Regions from separate parts of the Homo sapiens genome. Here all the other regions are linked to region 1. Evidence: promoter capture Hi-C in 16 types of primary human blood cells and fetal thymus (Javierre and others, 2016). All regions are on one chromosome and are shown on one strand. The core of a region is centred on a gene start or on the middle of the fragment in contact, and the rest is flanking DNA. Distances in the headings are between cores, read along the strand shown.

What was found. The method cuts DNA at HindIII sites, captures the fragments that hold promoters and counts their contacts. A CHiCAGO score of 5 or more calls a contact.
Region 2: the fragment with the promoter of CIMIP4 here is called in contact with the fragment with the promoter of PVALB in region 1 in 2 of 17 cell types (M1 macrophages and neutrophils); the score reaches 5.1 in M1 macrophages.
Region 3: a fragment that was not itself captured here is called in contact with the fragment with the promoter of PVALB in region 1 in 3 of 17 cell types (megakaryocytes, endothelial precursors and monocytes); the score reaches 6.1 in megakaryocytes.
Region 4: a fragment that was not itself captured here is called in contact with the fragment with the promoter of PVALB in region 1 in 6 of 17 cell types (neutrophils, monocytes, M0 macrophages and 3 more); the score reaches 9.3 in neutrophils.
Region 5: a fragment that was not itself captured here is called in contact with the fragment with the promoter of PVALB in region 1 in 3 of 17 cell types (neutrophils, erythroblasts and megakaryocytes); the score reaches 5.9 in neutrophils.
Region 6: a fragment that was not itself captured here is called in contact with the fragment with the promoter of PVALB in region 1 in 2 of 17 cell types (neutrophils and erythroblasts); the score reaches 9.2 in neutrophils.

Annotation. Positions count from the first base shown.
Region 1 is chr22:36,814,948-36,818,542 of GRCh38, forward strand. PVALB (parvalbumin) reads right to left here and starts at 2,088. Exons shown (of 4, transcript NM_001315532.2): 1 at 1,998-2,088; 2 at 156-288. The coding sequence starts at 2,058. The HindIII fragment of the contact is 33,107 bases long and covers 1-3,595 here.
Region 2 is chr22:37,005,939-37,009,685 of GRCh38, forward strand. CIMIP4 (ciliary microtubule inner protein 4) reads right to left here and starts at 1,913. Exons shown (of 6, transcript NM_001163857.2): 1 at 1,791-1,913. The HindIII fragment of the contact is 2,868 bases long and covers 142-3,009 here.
Region 3 is chr22:36,964,827-36,968,572 of GRCh38, forward strand. It overlaps LL22NC01-81G9.3 (a long non-coding RNA gene), which reads left to right and starts at 422. Exons shown (of 4, transcript NR_038954.1): 1 at 422-687; 2 at 1,564-1,681; 3 at 2,342-2,762; 4 at 3,160-3,346. The HindIII fragment of the contact is 1,181 bases long and covers 1,899-3,079 here.
Region 4 is chr22:36,987,348-36,990,845 of GRCh38, forward strand. No RefSeq gene overlaps it. Among named protein-coding and RNA genes, the nearest start is that of CIMIP4, 19 kb to the right of the region's middle. The HindIII fragment of the contact is 2,121 bases long and covers 781-2,901 here.
Region 5 is chr22:37,053,877-37,057,452 of GRCh38, forward strand. KCTD17 (potassium channel tetramerization domain containing 17) reads left to right here. Exons shown (of 9, transcript NM_001282684.2): 3 at 2,444-2,535; 4 at 3,522-3,576. It also overlaps the pseudogene RN7SKP214. Among named protein-coding and RNA genes, the nearest start is that of KCTD17, 3.9 kb to the left of the region's middle. The HindIII fragment of the contact is 5,049 bases long and covers 1-3,576 here.
Region 6 is chr22:37,026,457-37,029,974 of GRCh38, forward strand. MPST (mercaptopyruvate sulfurtransferase) reads left to right here. Exons shown (of 3, transcript NM_021126.8): 3 at 2,760-3,359. The coding sequence ends at 3,058. Among named protein-coding and RNA genes, the nearest start is that of MPST, 8.5 kb to the left of the region's middle. The HindIII fragment of the contact is 5,853 bases long and covers 1-3,518 here.

The DNA of each region.
Region 1 (3,595 bases), core at 838-3,337:
GCCCTGGGTCGGAGCCCTGCCTTCACGCACGGTTACTTTCTGTGAAGCAGGCAGAGTGAAAGGCAGGTCTGATGGACACTTGGAAGCTAGAGTCCCAGCCCCCACTCCCTCTCGTGCAGCCGTGGGCTGGGCAGCCCCTGCAGGCCTCCGCTTACCCCAGCTCATCCTCCTCGATGAAGCCACTTTTGTCCTTGTCCAGCATGTGAAACACCTTCTTCACATCATCCGCACTCTTTTTCTTCAGGCCGACCATTTGGAAGAACTTTTTGTGGTCGAAGGAGTCGGTAGCTGTGGGGGGAAGAGCAGGGTCAAACAAGGACCAGAAAGGCTGGTAGGGAAGCCTGGGAGAATGGGGGGCATCAAGGCATTTGTTGATGGATTCCCACATGCCAGTCATGGGGAATGAGAGGTACCCACCTCCATTGGAGGGCTGAGGGAGCCCGGGCAAGGGAGGATAACCTGTCCAAGGTCACAAGGCTGGGAGTGGAAGAGGTGTGCTCAAACCCAGACCTCCCTGGCTCTCAAGCCCGCCCCCACGCCCCACCTCCACTGCACCCATTGCTGATGATGGGAGCAGCACCTAAGAACCAAAGGCTTTTGTTCTTCTGAGAACCTTGTGCCCAGGAAGACTTTTGAGTGCCAGCTGGTTGGGAGTGGGCTGGGGAATTGAAGGGGGCATGAACATGGTCCTGGGGTTAGGGGGAGGAGGGTTGACCTTCTTTCTTGGCCACAGACTTTGTTGCCAGAAAATTGACATAGAAAGGACAGGTTTCCCTCAAGGTCATACAGTGGGAGGAGGAGGGGCAAACCCGGAAGTCCTGGCTCTGCGCAGAAATCCACTTCGGAGGCAGTGGGAAGGGGGTGTTAGGAGGCTCCCGAGAAACACCCAGTTAAGTTTCTTCCCACATGGGCTTGAGGTGAAGGGAGAGGGTTATCCCAGGACCCTGGGAGGGTGGCTTCCCAGAGAGGTTCTTGTGCCCAGGGGAGGGGGTGCAAAGCAGAAAGGAAATGGGGGTCCTTTTCTACCTGCAATTTTCTGTATCTTGGGGTCCTGTTTTAGAACACCTGGGGAAGGGTACAATGTTAGATCATGTATTTTGTGTGTGTGTGTGTGTGTGTGTGTGTGTAGGGAATGGCTGTTGAAGTCATGTTCTCTTCCCCTCAGCACAGGGCTAGAGACAAGGAAAGTTGCCCTGTCCACCTCCGACACTAGGCTGGGCAACCCAGTTCTAATACCCCTTCTGCCCAGCTAGGTGACCTTGGGCAAATGTCTTGTCCTCTCCAAGACAGTTCCCTGATTTCCCCATCTGGAGGACAGGGGAGGAGGAAGGCGGGCAGCTTAGCGCTGAAGTCCCGGGCAGCTGGGAGAGGTGAGACTGCCAGTTCCCCTCCCCTGCCCGCCTAAGGAGGCTGGAGGTTTGAGGCACTGAGGATGCCCCGTGCGGGCTTAGGCAGAGCTGTGCGCCGGCTCCAGAAGGTCACCTCGCCCGCAGGTCCGTTGCTGAATCTCAGTAAAGGAACTAGGACAGTCAGGGGGCCAACAAAGGCTACCGCCTGGCGGGAAAAGTCCTGTCCAGAATGAGGGTCCAGGAAAGGGGTCTCTTGGAGAGGAGGATGCCCCCTGCAGTCCCCTCTAAGTGCCTTAAAGAGGACGTCCAGAGAGCTCGTACAAGGACCCTGGAGGTCTCTCCTCCGACCCTGGTCTTCGCCCTTGGTCCCGGACCCTGAGTCCTCCCAGCCACCGGGCCTTCAGCACCCTCAAGTTTCTGTAACTTAGGCGGGGCGCCCTCTTCCCCGCCCGCTCCCCGCGCCAAGCCTCGCCCGGACAGAGTTTGGGAACTGCCAAGGACGCCCCCGCCCCGACCTCGCCGGCGCCCAGCGGGAAGTGTGGGCAGAAGCGCGCTGGGGAGGATCCGCCGGCTGCGGGGCCGGCGGAGTGCAGGGGCGCGGGCGGTGGACGAGGGGAGAGGGATGGGGAGGGGAGCGCGCTTGCTCACCGCTAAAGGCTCCCACCGCCTTCTTGATGTCCTCAGCGTTCAGCAAGTCTGTCATCGACATCCTGCAACTGTTTGAGCGGGCAGAGCAAGTGCGAAAAGATTAAAAAGTGCTTTTCTCATCATTTCTGCTCATATGACCAGCGCTGCAGTGCTGCGCGCCGGGCGCACGCCCGCCGGGCCTGGCATGGCGCCAGGGGCCCGGACTCTGAGCGCAGCGGGAGCGGCTCAGTCCAGCCGCGCCGCTGAGCAGCGCCGGCCGCCGGCAAGAAGGCGCGCGGACCTGCTACCACTCCTGCACCGCCAGGCCAGGGGTCCGCGGGATCCCAGGGGCTGCGGCCAGGGCACGAGGGAAGGGGCCACCTCTGGGATTTAGGGGGCACTGGCGTCACCAGCTGGGTCTGGAAAGTCCACCTGCCGTCAAGGACACGCAGGAGGTGCGCCGTCTCAGATCTGGGAACCTTGGCGGATGTCCTGCCGCGTGGGGGAAGATCCTGAACCTTCAGCGGCCAGCCTGCACCTCAGGACCTCCTAGGCCCTGCTCCCTTTCTCTCTCCACTCCTACCTCAGCCTCTGCTCTGGTCTGTCCTGGATGCAAATTTATGCTGCAAAATCTGAGCGCTGAGGTCCTGAAACCTGACCCACCCGACGCAGGGAGGAGGTGGCAGGGACAGGGACAGGGACAGGCAGGAGCTGCTGGGGCCCACTTCGGGTGCCCCATCCCACATCTGGCCAGGGATGCATATTCTAAAACCTGATTTGATGTTTTACTTTTATTTTTTATTTTTTTGCTGGCTTGATTTTTCGAAGAACACTTCTCAGATCTCTACTAACTACTTGCTTTCCTGGTCTCCTGGGTCCTGGCATCATGGGTCCAGACTCCCCCTACTCCTATAAACCTTTTTTGGGCAGAGTAGGGTGGGAGAGTCCGCTTGGAATTGCTATGCTCCCTCCCAGAAAGCCCCATATGTGTTTGGAAGAAGGGTAGCACCTTCAGACCACACTTTCTAGACAACCTAAGCAGGTGTAGGGGTCTGAACTTCACCTCTGGAAAAATGTCACGGTGCCTATCTGTATGCAGCCAGAGACCCGTTGTGTTCTTCCCCATGGTTCCCAAGGTTTCAAGCTGCAACCAGCTGCTTCTAGAGTGTGTGAGCGCTGGACAGGGAGTCAGGAGGCCTGGGTTCTAGATCCTGGGCTGCACTAAGTCCCAGTGTGACCTTGGGTTGTGACCTTCTCTGGGCTTCTGTCTCCTTCTGATGTGTTGATGACGTCAGTGGTCCCATGTAGTGGGACCTGGGGACTGCAACTTAAGGTATTGGCAGGTAGGCAGGGCCTTGGGCTGTGGTGGCCCTGGGTGGTGGGGACCAGGGAGAGCAGCTGTCCAGCTGCCCAGTAACTCAAGTTCCCTGACATCGCTGTCAACATTGTCTCCTGCAGCTCAGCCCTGGATGGCTGCCCTTCCTGGAAACCTTAGGATACCTCTGCTGGCTCCAGCTGCCCCCTCCCTGTGAGTCAGCTCCTTCAAGCCACAGCCCGCCAGATGGCTTCCAAGGCACCAAGGATGCAGCTCCTGACCTGATGCCTCTCAGCTCCAGGAC
Region 2 (3,747 bases), core at 663-3,162, 190 kb after region 1:
GGAGTGTGACTGTGCGACCTGTTGTTAAAACTTCAGAAAGATCAAAGGATGAGGGTATTACTCTGTCAAACAAAGGGTGCTTTAAAGAGATTAAAGAGATGCCTGATATATCCTCTTAACAGAACCATAGGACCTCTAGGAAGCTTAAGGCTCCTCAACAGGAGCCTCAGTTAAAAAGGGGTGTGACTTTTGTTCAATGGAGTGAACCCCTGTAAGTTTTACTGTTGAGAAAATAACATCAGCAAAATGTTGGCAACTTCGGGTAAAAGGGATAGAGACAGTACAAAATGAAAAGATACCATTGAACAAAAAATAAAAATAAAAAAGACAAGTCAGAGAGTGGATGCAAGAGTCCAGAAGGCAGAGCTGAGAGCCATGGAGAATTATCCCCAGGCCTTGAAACCTAATCAAGGAATGTCCAACATTTGTGTGGCTGGATTTCAAAACCGCTATGGAACATTGACTCCATGTCTCCATTTTCCTCAATTTTGAATAGGAATGTCACTAGTTCTTATCCTATGCCTATCACATCACTGTATGTTAGGTGTGTTCAGGGCAAATTACTTAGTTTCACAGATCTATGATGGGGAAGAATTGAATCTGAGAAGCTGTACTTAAGGAACGACACTGGAGGAGCCTCAGCCACACCTGGAGCTGATTTATATGACCAGATTCTAGCTTTTAAACTGATGCTTTAATAGGATGAGAATTTTAAAGATCTTAGGAGGGGATGACTATATTTTGCATGTGGAAGGGATGTACATTATTGGGGGCCAGAGGGCAGAGAGTGGCAGGCAGTTGACATGGCTCCCAATGATCCCTGTTTCTTGGTATAATTCTCTCCCCTTTGGTGTGGACTGGACATAGTGATGAATGGAATGTGGCAAAAATGAGGGATGTTGCATCCATGATGAACTTATAAGAGACTACAACTTCTGTCTTTTTCACACACTCTCTGCAGCTCTCCTCAGCTCATCTTCTCTGACAGAAGCCAGTTTCCCTGTTGTGAGATGCCCTATGGAGAGGTCCACAGGGCAAGGAACTCAGAGTGGCCTCTTGCCAACAGCTCCAGAGTAGCTGGATCCTGCCATGTGAATGGGTTCCTTCTCTGGTCGAGCTTTGAGATGAGACTAGAGACCCAAGCAACACCTTGATTGCAGCCTGTGAGAGACCCTGGGACAGAAAAATCACCAACACTCCACCGGTATTCCCAACTCACAGAAACTGTGAGATAGTAAATGTTGTCTTAAGCCCACTAAGTTTTGGGGTGATTTGTTGTGCAGCAAGAGATAACTAACACAAGTCCATGTCAAGCATTCTCACATCTGGTAAATTAGTCTGGTCTTCACAAATACCCAGTAAGGTGTTCGGAGACACTACTAATTTATCTTCTTTCACAGATGGAGAAAATGAGGCTCCGAAAAGACACAGGACTTCACCAGGTGGGGCTAAAATTAAATTGCACATCTTCAAGCTAGGTGAAGTTCAAGTTAGCTCCAAGTTTTCTTTCTCCTCCTATCCCCAGCCACCAACCTGACGTGCCCACGGCAGCTCTGTACGTCCCAGTGCACTGCCAGTCCACAGCAGTCTGGACGGGCTACAATGGAAGTGTGGACTCACTTCCAGTTTCTGACCCAGAGAGAGAGATCCCAAGAGACTTTGGTCAAAGAGGGCGGGAAGGTAAGTCCAGTCTAGGCAGTCTTCACTCACAAGCAACTCTGAATGGGGAGAAGGAAGATGAAACCCCATGTCCTGGAAGAACCCTGGCCCTTCATAAGTCTCTGCCTCACCTCTCCAATCTCTTTCATAACAGCAGGAAACACGTGAACCACACTGATGTGTGCTGAAGCCCAGAAGTGCAGATCCCCACTGCAGAACTACTGGTGAAGACCAATGGATGGTTGCTGGGAAGTGGCCCTCCCCAAGATGTTCATTGGAGTTGCCATGGTGATCACTATACACAGGGCTCTGTTACCTCAGAGGGCTGATAGGCCCACCCGTAGGGAAAAGAGGCCAGGAGAAAGCCAGGATTGAGGCCAGGAAAAGGCAGGAGGGGCTTCAATTATTGTTCACTCTCTCATCCACTCTAGAATGTCAGTTGAGCCCCCACTACATGCCAGGTGTGCCAGGCACAGGGGGCTCAGATGCTACCAAGTGCAAAAGATGTTCTTGGGAGCTCAAAGCACTAAGTAGGGAGAAGAACTAGCTCTGTGTAGGAAAAAGGAGGAAGGACTTATGAAAGAGCCATTTGAGTTGGATCTTGAAGGATGCCTAGGAACTTAACAGTTTTGAAGGGATGAGAATATTAAAGGCATGGATGTGTATAACAGCATAAATGTAGGTCGAGGTCAATGGGGAAGGAGAAAGATGCATCTGGAGCTGTCTGATTTGGACACCCAGGGATCAGGGACCTGGGAGTAAAACTAAAGGAAGGGTCCTCTCTCCTATTCCTAAACAACAAGGGCTACAGAAGGAGATCAACAAAATTAAGTGACTTCTTTTCTGCAGAGAAGAAGGAGGCAGAAGTCATTGGTGCCAGCACTGGCCCATTCCTGTCTGGCTGTTGCTCAGCCTGGACAAAGAGTGGGTATAGTGAACGCCTCCTGCAAGCCCAGCCTTTCAGGATTTCCCCAGGAAACAGAGAGTGCTGTGGTTAAACTTGGAGTCCCCAGAATCTGGGCCTGTCACTTATTAGATAAGAGACTGGCCAAGTCCTTTAGCTGAACTTCCTTCACATGTGAAACAGATATCACCCAACACTAAGGATAAGGGTGATGGGCGAATAAAACAATTTTTTGCAAAATGTAGCACATTGCCTTGCACAGAGAGAGACATCACAAAACTCTAAGCTACTTCCGCAAGCAACCCATCAGCAAGTCCTTCGAAGTACACTAGATTTGGATGCCTTCGTCCACCTCCACAACTCCCCCTACTCCCTGGTCCAAGCCACCCTCATCTCTTGCCTAAGTATTATCTATTGCTGCACGACAATCTTGCCATAAACTTCGAAGCTTAACATACAACTGTTATCTCACAGTTTCTTTGGGTCGGGTGTCTACTCATGGCTTAGCTGAGTTCTCTGCATTGGGGTCTTAGCAGGCTACAATCCAAGTATTGGCCAGGGCTGCAGTCTCATCTGAGGTTCCACTAGGGAAGAATATGCTTCCAAGCTCATGTGGCTGTGGGAGGATTCAGTTCCTTGCAGTCTGTTAGACTGAGGGTCTCAGGCTCTCTCTGGCTGTCAGCCAGAGGCCATCCTCAGTTCCTTGCTATGTGGGCCCCCCAACACCAACATGACACTGACTTCATCAAAGCCAGCAAAGAGGGAGTCCCCTTGCAAGATGGGGCATTACAATGTTGTGTACCATAGTCACAGAAGTGGCATCCATCACCTTTGCCGTAGGCTGTTGGTTAAAAGCAAGTCACGGGTCCCACCCGCAGTGAAAGGGAGAGGGTCACACGGGGCATGAACACGAGGGGGCAGATAATATGGGGACCACCCTGGAGTCCACCATATCCTCTGACAGTCTTCTCACTCAACAGCCCAGCAATCCTGTTAAGACCTATATTAGATCATATGTCACCCCTCTAAACAAAACCTTCCAGCTCAACCACAGTAAAAGCTGACATCCTCCCATTTATCTGCAAGGCCCTACCCAACCTGTCCACCATTTTTCTCTGACCTCTGCTCCTCTCACTTTCCCAAGTGCTCCCTGGGTCCCTGCCATGCCAGGCTCTGCTGTTTTT
Region 3 (3,746 bases), core at 1,239-3,738, 150 kb after region 1:
TAAACCCAGCTTCAGAGAATCCCTGTTTCCCAGTCACTGTTTCTCAACTTTCCTACACTGCCACCAAGTATGAGCCAGCGTCTATCCCTCTCACATTCCTCACCCCATTAATAGACTCCCTGTTTTTCTTGTATCTCGTTAATTTCTGGTATGTTTCCTAGGACCTGAAAACATAACCAACTGTCTTTCATCTTAAAAAAAAAAACTCCCCCTTCCCTCACCCCAATCAAGTATCCACCTTAGGCTTCCATACCATCTCTTTCTCCTCTTTCTAATCAAGCTTTTCCAAAAAGCTGTCTTCATATTCCCATTTCCTATTCACTCCTCTCTCTATTTATTATGACCTGGCTTTAGAATGGTCTTCCGCCAGCATCACAGAGGAGCTCCACATCACATAACCAGATGGATTCACCCCTGCCTTGACCTCTCAGACACAACACCAGCACCATGGCCACTCCTAGAGCCTTAAAAGTCTCTCCATTTTTATGCCTCCCACCACACTCTGCTTTCTCCTTCCCGCTCTGACTTTCCCTTCTCTGTTCCCCTCCTGGCCTCCCGAGCACCTCAGCCAGGCCCTTAGGCACCAGTGTCCTCAGGGGTCTCCAGGGCTCCTCTTCTCATCCCGGTCTACGTGCTCTGCTTTCAAGTTTGCAGGCTCTCTCAGGTTTTACCTAAAGGTTTTCCTAAGTAAGTGTTCTTCCCCCAAACCTAAGAGCTATGAATTCAATGACCTATAGAACCTCTTTCCTTGTATGTTCCAGAGACGAGATACCTCAAGCTCCACGTGCCAGAATGTGACTCTTTGGCCACCCCCCAGCCCCCTATCCCCTACTCCCAGTGACTTTGTCTCTTGTAAGAGGCCTTGCCCTAGGCCACTGGTTCTGCTAAGGCCAGAGAAATGCCCACACACATGGTTGCTTATGGGAAGGGGTCATCTGAGCCAAAAATGGGGAATAGAGGCAGCTGCATGCCTTGAGCCACACTTGCAGAATCTGCCTGTCCAGGCCTCTCTTGTTCTCAGTGGTGACCTGTCTGCCTCCTGTTCCTGGGTCTTCCTCTTTCTGTGACTGAGACACCCTCCCCCACTGCCCGGCTGGAGGCTCAGCTCCATCCTCAGCTCCAGGACCAGCCCTGACCCGGGGAAGGAGGGGTTCACAGGGTCACAGTTGTGCCTATACTTCCTTGAACCTCTGTCCTCATCCCTGGGCCCACCCTTGCTTCTGAGAGCTGGGCCACCCTGTGTGGCCTCTGACAACTGAGTTCCTGCCTTCTTCCCCATGCTGGAGTTTGTTCTACAAAGCTCAGATTGGAGACCTTGTTGTTCTTGATTACAACTTACTTCTCTGTTTCCCTACCTCTACAGATGTGGTTTCTAGACAGTTTTCAATTATATTGATGAGTAAAAAATTTTTAAAAACAGAAAGAAAAATACAACTTTATTTTTAAATAAAAAAGAAAATATCATTTACTATCAACATCATTTTCTACTTTAAAAAAAAGACATTTTATTTTATTTTATTTTATTTTATTTTACTTTATTTTATTTTTTGTTTTTTGAGACAGAGTCTCACTCTGTTGCCCAGGCTGGAGTGCAGTGGCATGATCTCAGCTCACCACAACCTCCCCCTCCCAGGTTCAAGCAATTCTCGTGCCTCAGCATCCCGAGTAGCTGGGATTACAGGTGTGTGCCACCACGCGCAGCTAATTTTTGTATTTTTAGTAGAGATAGGGTTTCACCATGTTGGCCAGGCTGGTAAAAAGGGACATTTTAATACAAACGAAGTAATCAAAGAATTCTGATCTCAGCGCGCAGGATGGCCCTTTTCAAACAGAGGCAGCTGGCCATTTTCCTTGCCTTCATTTTCCAGGGTTTTCTCCTCCCATGAATGGGCAGTGAAAGCTTCATCCTGGACCAATCCTGCTCCACGATGGCTTTGGGGACCTGCCTTGCCCCAGTGTTTTGTCTGCAGGCCTGGCAACTTTGACCATGAGAGGCAGACTCCCTCTGACTGGAGGCTGACAAGTGGAAACTATTGGGATTATTCCCAGTGGCCTTACATGGGGGCGGCTCAGCTTGGTGAATTCTCAGGCATGATCCAAATCTGCCTCCCAGGCCCAGAACATCATTCTCTGGGATCCCGGGGCTGCCTGGGCTCTAGGAAGCCATTCTCTGCTGCTCCTGGTGTGCCCCTAGGGCTGGCTGAGGTTGGGAAGGCCTCCCCTCGCTGGAACAGAGGACAAAGTGATTCATCTTGATCCCCGTGAAATGGTTGTGCAACCCCAAGAGCCTGAGATTCATCAAAGAACGTGTCTCTTTATTTCCTGTTCATTACATTGCCAGGCACAATCCAGACAAGACATCCCAGCACTGCTTCCAGACCTCTGCTTGAAGGTGGGATTCTTCAATCTCCTGGACATTCTTAGAGTCTGGCTTTACACCACGTCTCCTTTGCACGATGGCAACACCAGCAGTATCTGCCCATGTGCAAGAGAGCCTCTGCAACAGCCCAATGGAGAAATGGAGGAGTTTCCAGGCCCACGTGACACTGAATCACAATTGTCTTTTACCGCTTGGGATGATGATGCCATCACTTTTCTCTAATTTTTTTTTTTTTTTTTGAGGCAGCCTCACTGTCACCCAGGCTGGAGTGTAGTGGCGTGATCTTGGCTTACTGAAACCTCCACCTCCCGGGTTCAAGTGATTCTCCTGCCTCAGCCTCCTGAGTAGCTGGGATTATGCCTACTATATCTCCAGCCTACAGGTGTGCGCCACCACGCCCAGCTAATTTTTATATTTTCAGTAGAGACAGGGTTTCACCAAGTTGGCCAGGCTGGTCTTGAACTCCTGGCCTCAAGTGATCCGCCTGCCTTGGCCTCCCAAAGTGCTTGGATTACAGGCGTGAGCCACTGTGCTCGGCCACTTTCCTCTGATTTTTAAGTGAAGTATATACATACATACATACACAGCAGGCAAGTGGAATTCCAAGCACAGAGGGCTTTTCAGCATAATTCTGAGAAGGCAACTTTGAGCAAATAACTTGCAGACATTATACAATTCTTTCTTGTTAAAGTCAAGGCAAGCTTTTCTGGGAAGGGGCATGAAGACCTTGACATAGTCTGCTTAGTTTTATTTATTTATTTATTTATTTATTTATTTAGAGACGGAATCTCGTTCTGTCACCCAGGCTGGAGTGCAGTAGCGCGATCTCAGCTCACTGCAACCTCCGCCTCCCCGGTTCCAGGTTCAAGGAATTCTCCAGCCTCAGCCTCCCGAGTAGCTGGGATTACAGGCCATAGTCTGCTTTAAAAATAATAATAATAATAATAAAAGACAACAGTGAAGAAGAAAGAAAGAATGATTCCCTCTTCGCACAAGAAGAAAGTTCTGATGCTTTTGGTATCATGGGGTCTTAGGTTCAATGTGTAGTGAGAGCTAACTAAGACAATTTTTATTTGTTCCTCTGAACACTTCTGTATTCCTATGACTACGTCATGCTTTTCCAGTTGCTATAACTTATGGAGTGTTTTGATATTTGGCATCCTCACTCATTAGTCTTCCTTTTCAACATTTTATTGGACACGATTACGCTATTATTCCTCCAAATTATTGTTAGAATCAATTTATCAAGTCATAAAAATGTCCTCTTAGAATTTTTATTGGAATTGCGCTAAATTTAATTCTTAATTTGGGAAGATCTGACAGTTTTGACAACTTTGTAATACTGGCTCTTTTGATCCAATAATTA
Region 4 (3,498 bases), core at 591-3,090, 170 kb after region 1:
TTTTTGAGATGGTGTCTCACTCAGTTGCCCAGGCTGGAGTCCAGTGGCACGATCTTGGCTCACTGCAACCTCCGCCTCCTGGGTTCAAGTGATTCTCCTGCCTCAGCCTCCAAGTAGCTGGGACTACAGGCACCTGCCACCATGTCTGGCTAATTTTTTTGAATTTTTAGTAGAGACACGGTTTCACCACATTGGCCAGGCTATTCTCAAACCACTGACCACAAACGATGTGCCCACCTCAGCTTCCCAAAGTGCTGGGATTACAAGCATGAGCCACTGCACCCAGCTGAGAACAAGAACTTTTAATACTTGCCAGGTTGTTTTCCTATTGTAAACTATGCTGCAATGGAGATCTTTGCACGCACTCCCTATATACATGTTCAAGGGTTTGTCTAGGCTGTGTAGAAATGGAAATTGTAGGTTGTATGATATAATTTCAATTTTGCTAAATACTCACCCACGGCTCTTGGCTCATAATTCATCAAGGGTACGAAAGTTTCCATTTCCCTCATTCTCATCTACACTTGCGTTTTAATTCTTGCCAACCTGATGGATTGTTTTCATTTGCATCTCTGATTATTGGGGATAATGAGCATCTTTTCAACTCTTCCGTGTGGCTTCTTTAGTCATTAACTCTTTATGTTCCAGCCAGACTGTAAATTCCTAGAAGGAAGGTCTGAGTCTCAAATGTAAGGCCCTCACAGAGGACAGCCCGGTCCAGGCATAGACTCTCTGTTTCCTACCTCACCTCTGTGTTCCTCCTTGGAGCCCTACCTTCCAAGCTTAACAAGCTACCTGCAGCTTGCCAAATACATCATGCTGCAGTTTCATGCATACCATGCCCTCTGTCTGGAATGCTGTGCCTCTTCCAGTCCACCTGAACATCCTTATTCATGTTCCATGATTCATCTCAAGAGCCACCTCCTCTATGAAGCCTACCATATGACCGGCACCCTACCCCATCCCAGGCAGAGCTAACCACGTTCTCCTTTGTGCTTTTGCTGGCCCCACGTGAACGTCTCACCGCATGTGTAAGACTTCTGAGCATCTATGTACTGATGTATTTGTCTTCTCGCCAGACTCTGAACTCTTTGAGGACAGGCGCCATGTCTTATTTATTTTTGCACGTCCAGCTCATTGGTCAGGGCTGGGCAGGGGCATATCATGGGTAGATAAGTCTCTAAGGCAGCTTCTTCCACATCAATCTCCTGCAGACTGCAAAGCTCTGAGGTCTGGACTGTATTGCATATTGCATATGCATATTGCATATTGTATTGCATTCATATTGCTGTTTTCACCGTGCCTAATAGGGCTGAGTGTTTGTGGTGCTCCGTCAACAGGCACCACAAACACTCAGCCCTGTTAGGCACTGCACTGTCATACTACGTACACTGCAGTACGATTGCCTGGTAGAGTAGAAGTGACTTTGGATAGAAATTCCTGGGTTTGCACCCCCAGCTTCCTATGCATATAATCTTGTACAATTTCCTTGGCCTCTCCAAGCCTCAGTTTCCTCATCTTCATAAAGGGAGTGATAACAGCTCTGAGGACTGGTGTAAGGATGAAATACAGTTCCGTATATAAACCATGTGGCACATAATCATTTGCCACGTTATCATTTCTATGTCAGAACAGCACAGAGTCTGCTTTAGCCACAAGACTTTGGGTGGCTCATTTTTTCAGGTGTCACATGTGATGGGCACATAGTAGTTGATGAAGACAAAGTCTAGTGTTTCCAGTGCCCAGAACAGTGTCTTGCAGAAACTAGGTACCCAGTAAAGAAGTTGAACTGAACTCTGCACTTTGCACATAATTAGATATTTGATGAATATTAAATCAAGTCAGATTCACTTCCCTGTATTGCATTCTGATCCAACCCTACCTTTAAGTCATTCCTGGACGGGCGTGGTGGCTCACGCCTATAATCCCAGCACTTTGGGAGGCTGAGGCGGGTGGATCACTTGAGCTCAGGAGTTCAAGACCAGCCTGGCCAACATGGTGAAACCTCATCTCTACTAAAAATACAAAAATTAGCTGGTCATGGTGGTGCACTCCTGTAATCCCAGCTACTCGGGAGGCTGAGGCAGGAGAATAGCTTGAACCCAGAAGGCGGAGGTTACAGTGAGCCAAGATCACACCACTGCACTCCAGCCTGGACAACAGAGCCAGATTCCATCTCAAAAAAAAAAAAAAAAGAAAAGACAAAGAAAAAAAAGTAAGTAAGTCATTCCCTTTTGTGGGAGGAGGGGCAGTTGAGGGAGAAGTAGGAACATGTCTCCTCTTCTCCCAGTAGTGATTTTGATTCTTCCTCTCGCTTTTGATCTTTCAAAAGCAAGATGACCACCAGGACAAACTATTATTTTGAGGTCGCCAATGAACCATTCCTGCATACAGTAATACTCTTATGTAGTCCCCTCTCACAAAGTCTGGGCTTGGCCATATGTCTCTTTGGCCACAGGGACATTGACAAGCCAGTGCAAGGCTTGATAAACCATTGCACATTGAATCTTGTCCCCTGAGACGGCTCCTTCTTGAAACCTAGTCCCCATTCCAAAAGAAGCTCAAGTGAGCCACGAAGAGAGGTCCCATGAGAGAGAGTGATGATCAGCCAGCCCCCCACTGTGGTTCTCATCCCAGCTGAGGCACTAGGCATGGGAGAGGAGCAGGCGTCTTCACAGCAGATGCTATACAGAACAGAAATGAGCCGTACCTCCTGAGCCCTGCCTAAATTGCTCAATCATGAGCAAATTAAGGATCATGTCATTTTAAGCCCACAAGTTTTGGTGGTGTTTTGGAACACAGCAAATAATAAATAACCCATGGGTAGAGCACGGTCTGAGGGTGCAAGTCAGTGATCTCGGGGTGGAGTGTGCTGCGGGCTTAGAGACTCATCAGGTGAAAAGCTTCAGGATCAACTGGAAAACAGAACCGTCTGACCTAGAACCCATTATCTGGGGACTCTTCCCTGGGGCTCCAAGCCCCTATGGTCTGAGGATGCTTTTGGCTCCTTAAACAATGAGGAGACCTCAGGCTCACATTACAGGAAGTCCAGAGGCCGGCAGCTTCTGGCCAAGTTGATGGAGCAGCTCTGCGAGGCCATGGAGGACCCAGAATGTGCTGCATGGTCTGCAATTCCTCTGGTCATAGGTGTCTGGCAGGAGTGGTCTGGGCTGCATGGTTCCTCATTCATTACATCAGGAAAGATGGATGCTCTCTCAGCATTCCCAGCTGAGAAAAGAATTTCCCAGAAGGCTGCACGCATCCACACGTTTCCTTGCATCTTATTGGCCCAAATTGAGTCATATGTGCATGACTGAACCAATCACGTGCAAGAGGTGGGGTTGGGGTAGGGGTAAAGAATCACCATGAGACCAATCAAACCCGCCACTAGATTGGAGGAAATGTGTGTGGCCAACTCCTCTGAAGTCCGTGTCTCGTGGGGGAGGAATGGATGTCTGGGAATAATTGGCATCTTCTAGGAAGAGCATGTAGGGTAAG
Region 5 (3,576 bases), core at 801-3,300, 240 kb after region 1:
AAGGACTACAGTCAGTGCCAAGTTAACTCTTCTTTGGGACACAGGGTGTGGCTCTGGGTCAGCTGATCCAGCCAGACCAGCTTGAATATGTCACTTCTCCTCACTGCGTCTCCACTGGTATCTATTCAATGGGGGCGGTGATCTGCCTTCTGGAGGGAGATGTCATAAATCCTGCACCTGTGCGTGCCTTCCTGCTCTGGGCCATGGTCTGCCCTCCCTGAGCCCTATGGGACACAGTGGTCTGGAGGCCCAGCAACTCTCTAATAGGTCAGGGCCACAACACCAGAGTCCACTGTAGGTGCCTGGCCCTGCAGAGCCCCACAGCTTGCCTGTTAATCCCTAGGGGAGCACAGATACCATGGGCGTGGCCTAGGCTCAGGAGCAGGCCCCATCGGGAGGGAAGTAAACACCCCAGCTGCGTCGCAGCCAGCACCTGTTTACACGCCCTGCATTCTCAAAGCCCTGCTATTCCCACACCGTCAGACAGCGCTGTCTGGGGGCTAGAGGATCAGACAGGGTTATCTGGGGGCTAGGGGATCACACAGGGCTATCTGGGGGCTAGGAGATCACACAGGGCTATCCGGAGGCTAGGGGATCACACAGGGCTATCCGGGGGCTAGGGGATCACGCAGGGCTATCCGGGGGCTAGGGGATACACAGGGCTAGGGCTCATCCAGGGGATAGGGGATCTGAGAGGAGACTTACTAGCTGTGTGACACTGAGAAAGTGACCTAACCCCTCTGTGTCTGCATGCCCCCATCTGTGAAATGGGGGACCATAGCACCCACCTCACCGAGCTGTCATGAGGATAAAAGGAGTTAATAGTGCAGCATGGAGCTCAGTTCCTGGCCGGAGGATGTGGGATGCAGTGCTAGCTGTCTGTCACCTGCAGGGCTCCGCCCAGGGCACTGGGGATAATTCTCGTAATCAGGCAGCTGCACTCCCTGACCTCCTGCTCTGTGTTTGGTCCTGTGTGGGCACCGGGGACAGAGGGCAGATCAGAAATGTGAGCCCCATCTTAGCCATTTCAGGCTGCAATCATGAAGTAACATAGATTGGGTGGCTTATGAAAATCAGAAATTTATTTCTCTTGGTCCTAGAGGCTAGAAACCCGAGATCGGGGCACTGTGGCAGGTTCTGGTGAGGACTTTCTTCCGGATTGCAGACTGCTGACTTCTCGTTGTGTCCTCACATGGCAGAAAGAGAGGGAGCTAGCCCTCGCCCGCCCCTTCTCGAGAGCTTGTTTGGAGGTTCTAGCAGGGGAGCGCAGCTACTCACATACCCTTGACCAAAGTCCGGTCCTCCTCTATCGGGGGTGGTCGCCCCCTTCGATGGAGCTCACAGCTTCGGGAGGGACACACCTGGAGCAGTGAGGGAGGAAGGGGACACACATCTAGCCAGCCAGATCAGCTAAATCAACCCTGGTGATCAGTGGAGTGACAGATGTCCCCGCCAGATCGCCCTCACATCCAATTAGCCTTTCTTATAAGAAGACTGATCCTACCCTGGGGACTCTACCCCCATGATCTCATTACCTCCCCTCCTAATCCCATCACAGTTTTCAGCAGGTGGATTTTTGGGGAACACACACATTCTGCTCATAATGAGCTCTGTCCCCAGGGAGCCCAGAGGCCAGTCAAGGAAAGGGCCCAAAGGTCCCCTGCCTTCTGGGAGCCTAGGGGAGTCGAAACAGCTGCAAGCTCATCGCTTCACTGGTGGGCTGACTTCTTCATCTCCCAGATTAACTTAACTGTAAGATGGGGACAGTAATGCCTGCTCTCCTCATATCCCTGGACTTGTGATGAGCTCGTGCAGGGTGTTGCAAACTGTAAGGTGAGGCAGTTGGGGGAATGCATGGACACAAGGGTATGTGCTTACAGTGGGGAGACATGGGCTCTGGAGTCTGCAGCGCTTGAGTTCCCTCTGGCACTTACCAGCTGTGTGACCTTGGACAAGCTGCTTCTCTTTGGGAGCCTCAGTTTTCCCAGTTGTTCAATGCAGATGATGAAAGTACCTCCTTCTAGTTCTGAGAATTCAAAAATGTAATGCACCTGGCACTTAGAATGTGCTTAATAAATAGGAGCACATAATCAGGGGTCAGGCAAGGCCCTGCTCATGGTGACATTCTGGGGATCAGTCCCAATGACCCTGCTGTCTCTTGATAGCCCTAAAGCTGCCCCAGACGGTGGCCTGGCAGGTACCCCTGGGTCACCGCACTCAGCACAGCAGAGCTGTGTGGCAGCCCCTCAGCCCCTTCCACAGGAAGTGTGGGATCCAAGGAAAGAAATGCTCCCTCTTACTTGACCCCTGAACTCACAGACACTCAGCTCACCCTCAGGGCGGGTGATCAGAGCGAGAGGTGGGTTTCGGGGTGGAGGGAACAAGAGGAGAATGGGGCATGGAGGCAGAAGGAGTGACCTGGGATCTGTTCTGTCTGTGCCAGGGGTCCTGGAGGAAGCCGAGTTCTACAACATCGGCCCGCTGATCCGCATCATCAAAGACCGGATGGAAGAGAAGGACTACACGGTCACCCAGGTCGGGAGCAGGGGCAGCACACACGGCCAGGGCAGGGGCCAGTGGGGAGAGAGAGGCTGAGAGACGGGGCGGGAAGCAGAGGAGGTTGGGAGAGACAGGACCAGTGTTTGTCATGGGGAGGCCGAGCTGGCCTGTAAGGAGAGGCATGGTTGGGCTGACAGGCTGCCCAGCACAGCCCCAGACTCGGAGACGGACACTGGGGTTCAGTCCCTGTCTCAGCCCCATTTGCTGTGTGTTGGGCCAGGCTCGCCCTCTCCGGACCTTGATTTTCTCTTATGGGATAGAGAGGGGTGGGAATGGCACACCCATCCCTTCCTCATAGGCAGAAGGGGGTCAGTGTGGAGGTACAGGGTGCCCTGCAGAGGAAAATGCAGGATTAGCAAATTGTGCCTTTTGTGGCATCAGATGGTCGCCTGGTGGGCTCGGCACAGGCTGTTGGGGCTGGCGTTTGTGACCTTGGAGCCTGGGCCTCCCTGGCCAGTCTGCAGGAGGAGGGAAAGAGATTTTCCGCCTACTCTGGGGGATGTGTGAGGGTTGGGGGACAGGTAGTGAGGAACCATTTCTCAGGCCCAGGGGATTAAAGAGGGGAGGCTCCGTGTCTCCTTGAGGGCCTGACTCCTTGAGGGTGACCCAGAATGTTCCCTAAGCCCCACCCATGTTCTTTCTTGAATTACCCGTGTTCCGGTTCTGTCTCCTTCACCCTTGAGCTGGGTGACCTTGGGCAAGTAACTGGACCTCTCTGAGCCTCAATGGAAAGTCCCGTAATGCCTAGGATTCTTGGAAGGATTAAGTGAGATGGTGCCTGGTAAATGCCTGGTGAGGAGCAGGTGCTCAGAGCATGGCTGCCTCCCCCCAACCACCTCTTCTTTCTCTCCCTCTCTTCTTCTTTGGGTATGTTGCGGGGGTGGTGGCAGCAGGTGCTCATGCCCCTCCTGGGGTGCCTGGTGCTCCCACAGGTGCCCTCTATGTGACCCTTCTGCCCACAGGTCCCACCCAAGCACGTGTACCGCGTGCTGCAGTGCCAGGAGGAGGAGCTCACGC
Region 6 (3,518 bases), core at 660-3,159, 210 kb after region 1:
TTGTCAAAACAAACTAAGCTCACTGCAGCTGGATCAGTGATGAATGTCACTGTCGTCATCATTCCCACTCCACAGCCTGAGGCCTGGCCAAGTGCTCCTGTGATGTGCCACACCAGTCCAGCAGGCAGGGGAAACATGCTTTGCTTGGTGGGATTCAAGGTGTAGGGATGGCCCTCCCTTTACAGTCACCACCCTGGGTTGAGAGTTTGTTCCTCCTCCTTGCTCTGGGCTGGTCTCTATGTGATATCTGACCAAGCCCGGTAACTGTGTCTGTTAGGTGGGATGCATGACCCATTCCAGCCTCTCCACAGACTCGGGAGTGCTGTCTCTATGCCAGGGTCTGAGAATAGATACCGATACATGGGTCAGCAGCTCCTGTGGGGGTGTCACTCCACTGCGGAGGGAAACCAAGGCAGAAGCTGGACAAGAGTCTGAATGGCTCAGATTTGAATCATTCGTTTTTGGGGGGTTTTTTGTTTGTGTTTGTTTCTGTTGTTGTTGTTGTTATTGTTTTGAGACGGAGTTTTGCTCTTGTTTCCCAGCTGGAGTACAGTGGCGCAATCTCGGCTCACCACAACCTCCGCCTCCCGGGTTCAAGTGATTCTCCTGCCTTAGCCTCCCGAGTAGCTGGGATTACAGGCATGTGCCACCACGCCCGGCTAATGTTTGTATTATTAGTAGAGACGGGGTTTCTCCATGTTGGTCAGGCTGGTCTCGAACTCCCAACCTCAGGTAATCTGCCCCCCTCGGCCTCCCAAAGTGCTGGGATTACAGGCGTGAGCCACCGTGCCCAGCCCAAGCGTTAGTTGTGAAGGTTTATTTTGTTGCAAATCCCAGTCCTGCATGAAAATGGGAATGTTAGTAACCCCTGCCTCAAGGTGGGGCAGTGAAAACAAAAAACACCCTGGGAGTCTGCAGAGGTGTGGGCCTTTCCCATCCCATTCTTTCTGCTACAATCAAAATGATCGTTTAAAAATGGAAATCTAGGTTGGGCAAGGTAACTCCTACCTATAATCCTCACACTTTGGAAGGCTGAGGTGGGAGGATCCCTTGAGCCCAGGAGTTCAAGACCATCCTGGACATGATGGCAAGCCCCTTCTCAATAAAAAAAATTAAAAGTAACAGTAAAAAAGTAAACGCAGAAGCCTGAGTTCCCCCTGCAGTCAGGTCAAAGCCCCCAAGTCTTACTCCAGGCCTGCTAAGGCGTTCCCATCCCCTTCAGCTTCCCCTTTGGGCCTCTGGCTTCTCACTGTCTGGGCTTTCGTGACAATGACCTTTAACCCCTCCGGGCAACAGGTGGTTCCCTCGCCTTTCAGATTCCCTCTGCCTGGGATGCTCTAGGCCTCCATCCACCCAGACCCCTTTATGTGACTGAATCCTACTCATCCTTCGGGGCATTCTCAGAGAAACTTCCTCCACCCACTGAGCCCCCAGCCAGTGTGGCGTGAAGGTGGGAAGCATAGACTTGCCTGGGTTTACTCCTCCCTGCCCTCTGCTAGCTTGCACAAGCTAGTCTTTGTACTTCATTCTCTTCATCTTTACAAAAGAGAGGATAATAATTTCTTTCCCAGAGAATTTTGGGGTGGATTCAAGGAGAAAGTATAGCTGACCGTCTCCAAACAGTGCCTGGCAGAAAGTAAGCATTCAATAACATCAGCTATTGGCCAGGCAAGGTGGCTTACTCCTATATTCCCAGCACTTTGGGAAGCTGAGGCAGAAGGATTACTTGAGGCCAGGAATTCAAGACCATCCTGAGCCACATACTGAGACCCCATGTCTATAAAAACCAAATTAGGCCAGGCGTGGTGGTTCACACCTGTAATCCCAGCACTTTGGGAGGCCAAGGCAGGTGGATCATCTGAGGTCAGGAGTTCGAGACCACCCTGGCCAATATGGTGAAACCCCGTCTCTACTAAAAATACAAAAATTAGCCAGGTGTGATGGGTGCCTGTAATCCCAGCTACTCAGGAGGCTGAGGCAGGAGAATCACTTGAACCCAGGAGGTGGAGGTTGCAGTAAGCCAAGATCATGCCACTGCACTCCAGCCTGGGCAACAAGAGCAAAACTCCATCTCAAAAAAAAAAAAAAGAACAAAAAAAGGAAATTAGCTGAGCATGGTGGCATGTGCCTGTAGTAGTCCCAGCCCCTCGGGGGGAAGCTGAGGCAGGAGGATTGCTTGAGCCCAGGAGGTTGAGGCTGCAGTGAGCCTTGATCATGCCACTGCACTTCAGCCTGGGCAACAGAATGAGACCCTGTCTCAGTAATAATAATATCAGCTATTGCTGTTACTGGCGTTATTTTTTTTTTACATGCCCCAGGCCACCCAGTAGGGCACTTTTGGAACACCCATTATGCTTGTAATTATTCAGTTGCCTGTCTGCCCTGCCAGATTAAAGCTCCTTGCCTGCAGGTACTGCACGTTCTAGCTAGGCAGGGGTCTTGTTTATTGCTTTGCTGTCCCTAGGGTGCATAGTCAGGAAACCTTGGGGCCCAGTTCTTAGGTTCAAAGTTCAGTCAGCAATTTGCTAGATGTGTTAGCCTCAGGTGGTACTTAACCTCAGCATCACCGTGTATAAAATGGGGGCTCCTCTAAACAGTGCTCAGGTTTTATGGTTGTGAGAATTAAATGAGATGGTGGATATAAAGGATTTAGCACCATGCTTGCATGGGATGCTCTCAATATCTCGAGCACCACAAATACGAGGTACCATTCATAGCATCCTTCTATTTGTCCCCTCCTCCCTGCTCCCCTGCTGTAGGCATTGAACCTGGCCACATCCCAGGTACCGTGAACATCCCCTTCACAGACTTCCTGAGCCAGGAGGGGCTGGAGAAGAGCCCTGAGGAGATCCGCCATCTGTTCCAGGAGAAGAAAGTGGACCTGTCTAAGCCACTGGTGGCCACGTGTGGCTCTGGCGTCACAGCCTGCCACGTGGCACTAGGGGCCTACCTCTGCGGCAAGCCAGACGTGCCCATCTACGATGGCTCCTGGGTGGAGTGGTACATGCGCGCCCGGCCCGAGGATGTCATCTCAGAGGGCCGGGGGAAGACCCACTGAAGCTGGGCAGGACACAGGCGAGCTCAGGTGATGCCGGCCACCAGCAATGCCTGGCCTGGTAGCTCCGCTTCTGCTTTCACCAAGAGAGTGTTTCTTCACTCAACTCAGGTGGCATTTGGGGTGACATCTCAAAGGCCAGGAATTCCGTTGACTTGTTGGCTGCCAGTAGGGGCGGGAGGAAAGGCGGAGGCGAGCCCTGGAGGAGGGAGGCCACAACTCCGAGCTGCCCACCTGGTGCTGAGCTGGGGCCCCGCCTCCTTTCTGTTTTATTTTTGAGGAAATAAAATAACCAAGTGCTAAATCTTGTAGCTCTGGGGCTGCCTCGGTTTTCCTAAGGAGCCAGGGGTTCTGTCATGCCCAGCAAAGGTCACTCTGGGGAGCCTGAGGGTCTTGGAGATCCTGTCTCTGCCTTCCAAGCAGTGCTGGGGCCCCAGAGCTCCCCACTTCTGTGACTGAGCTA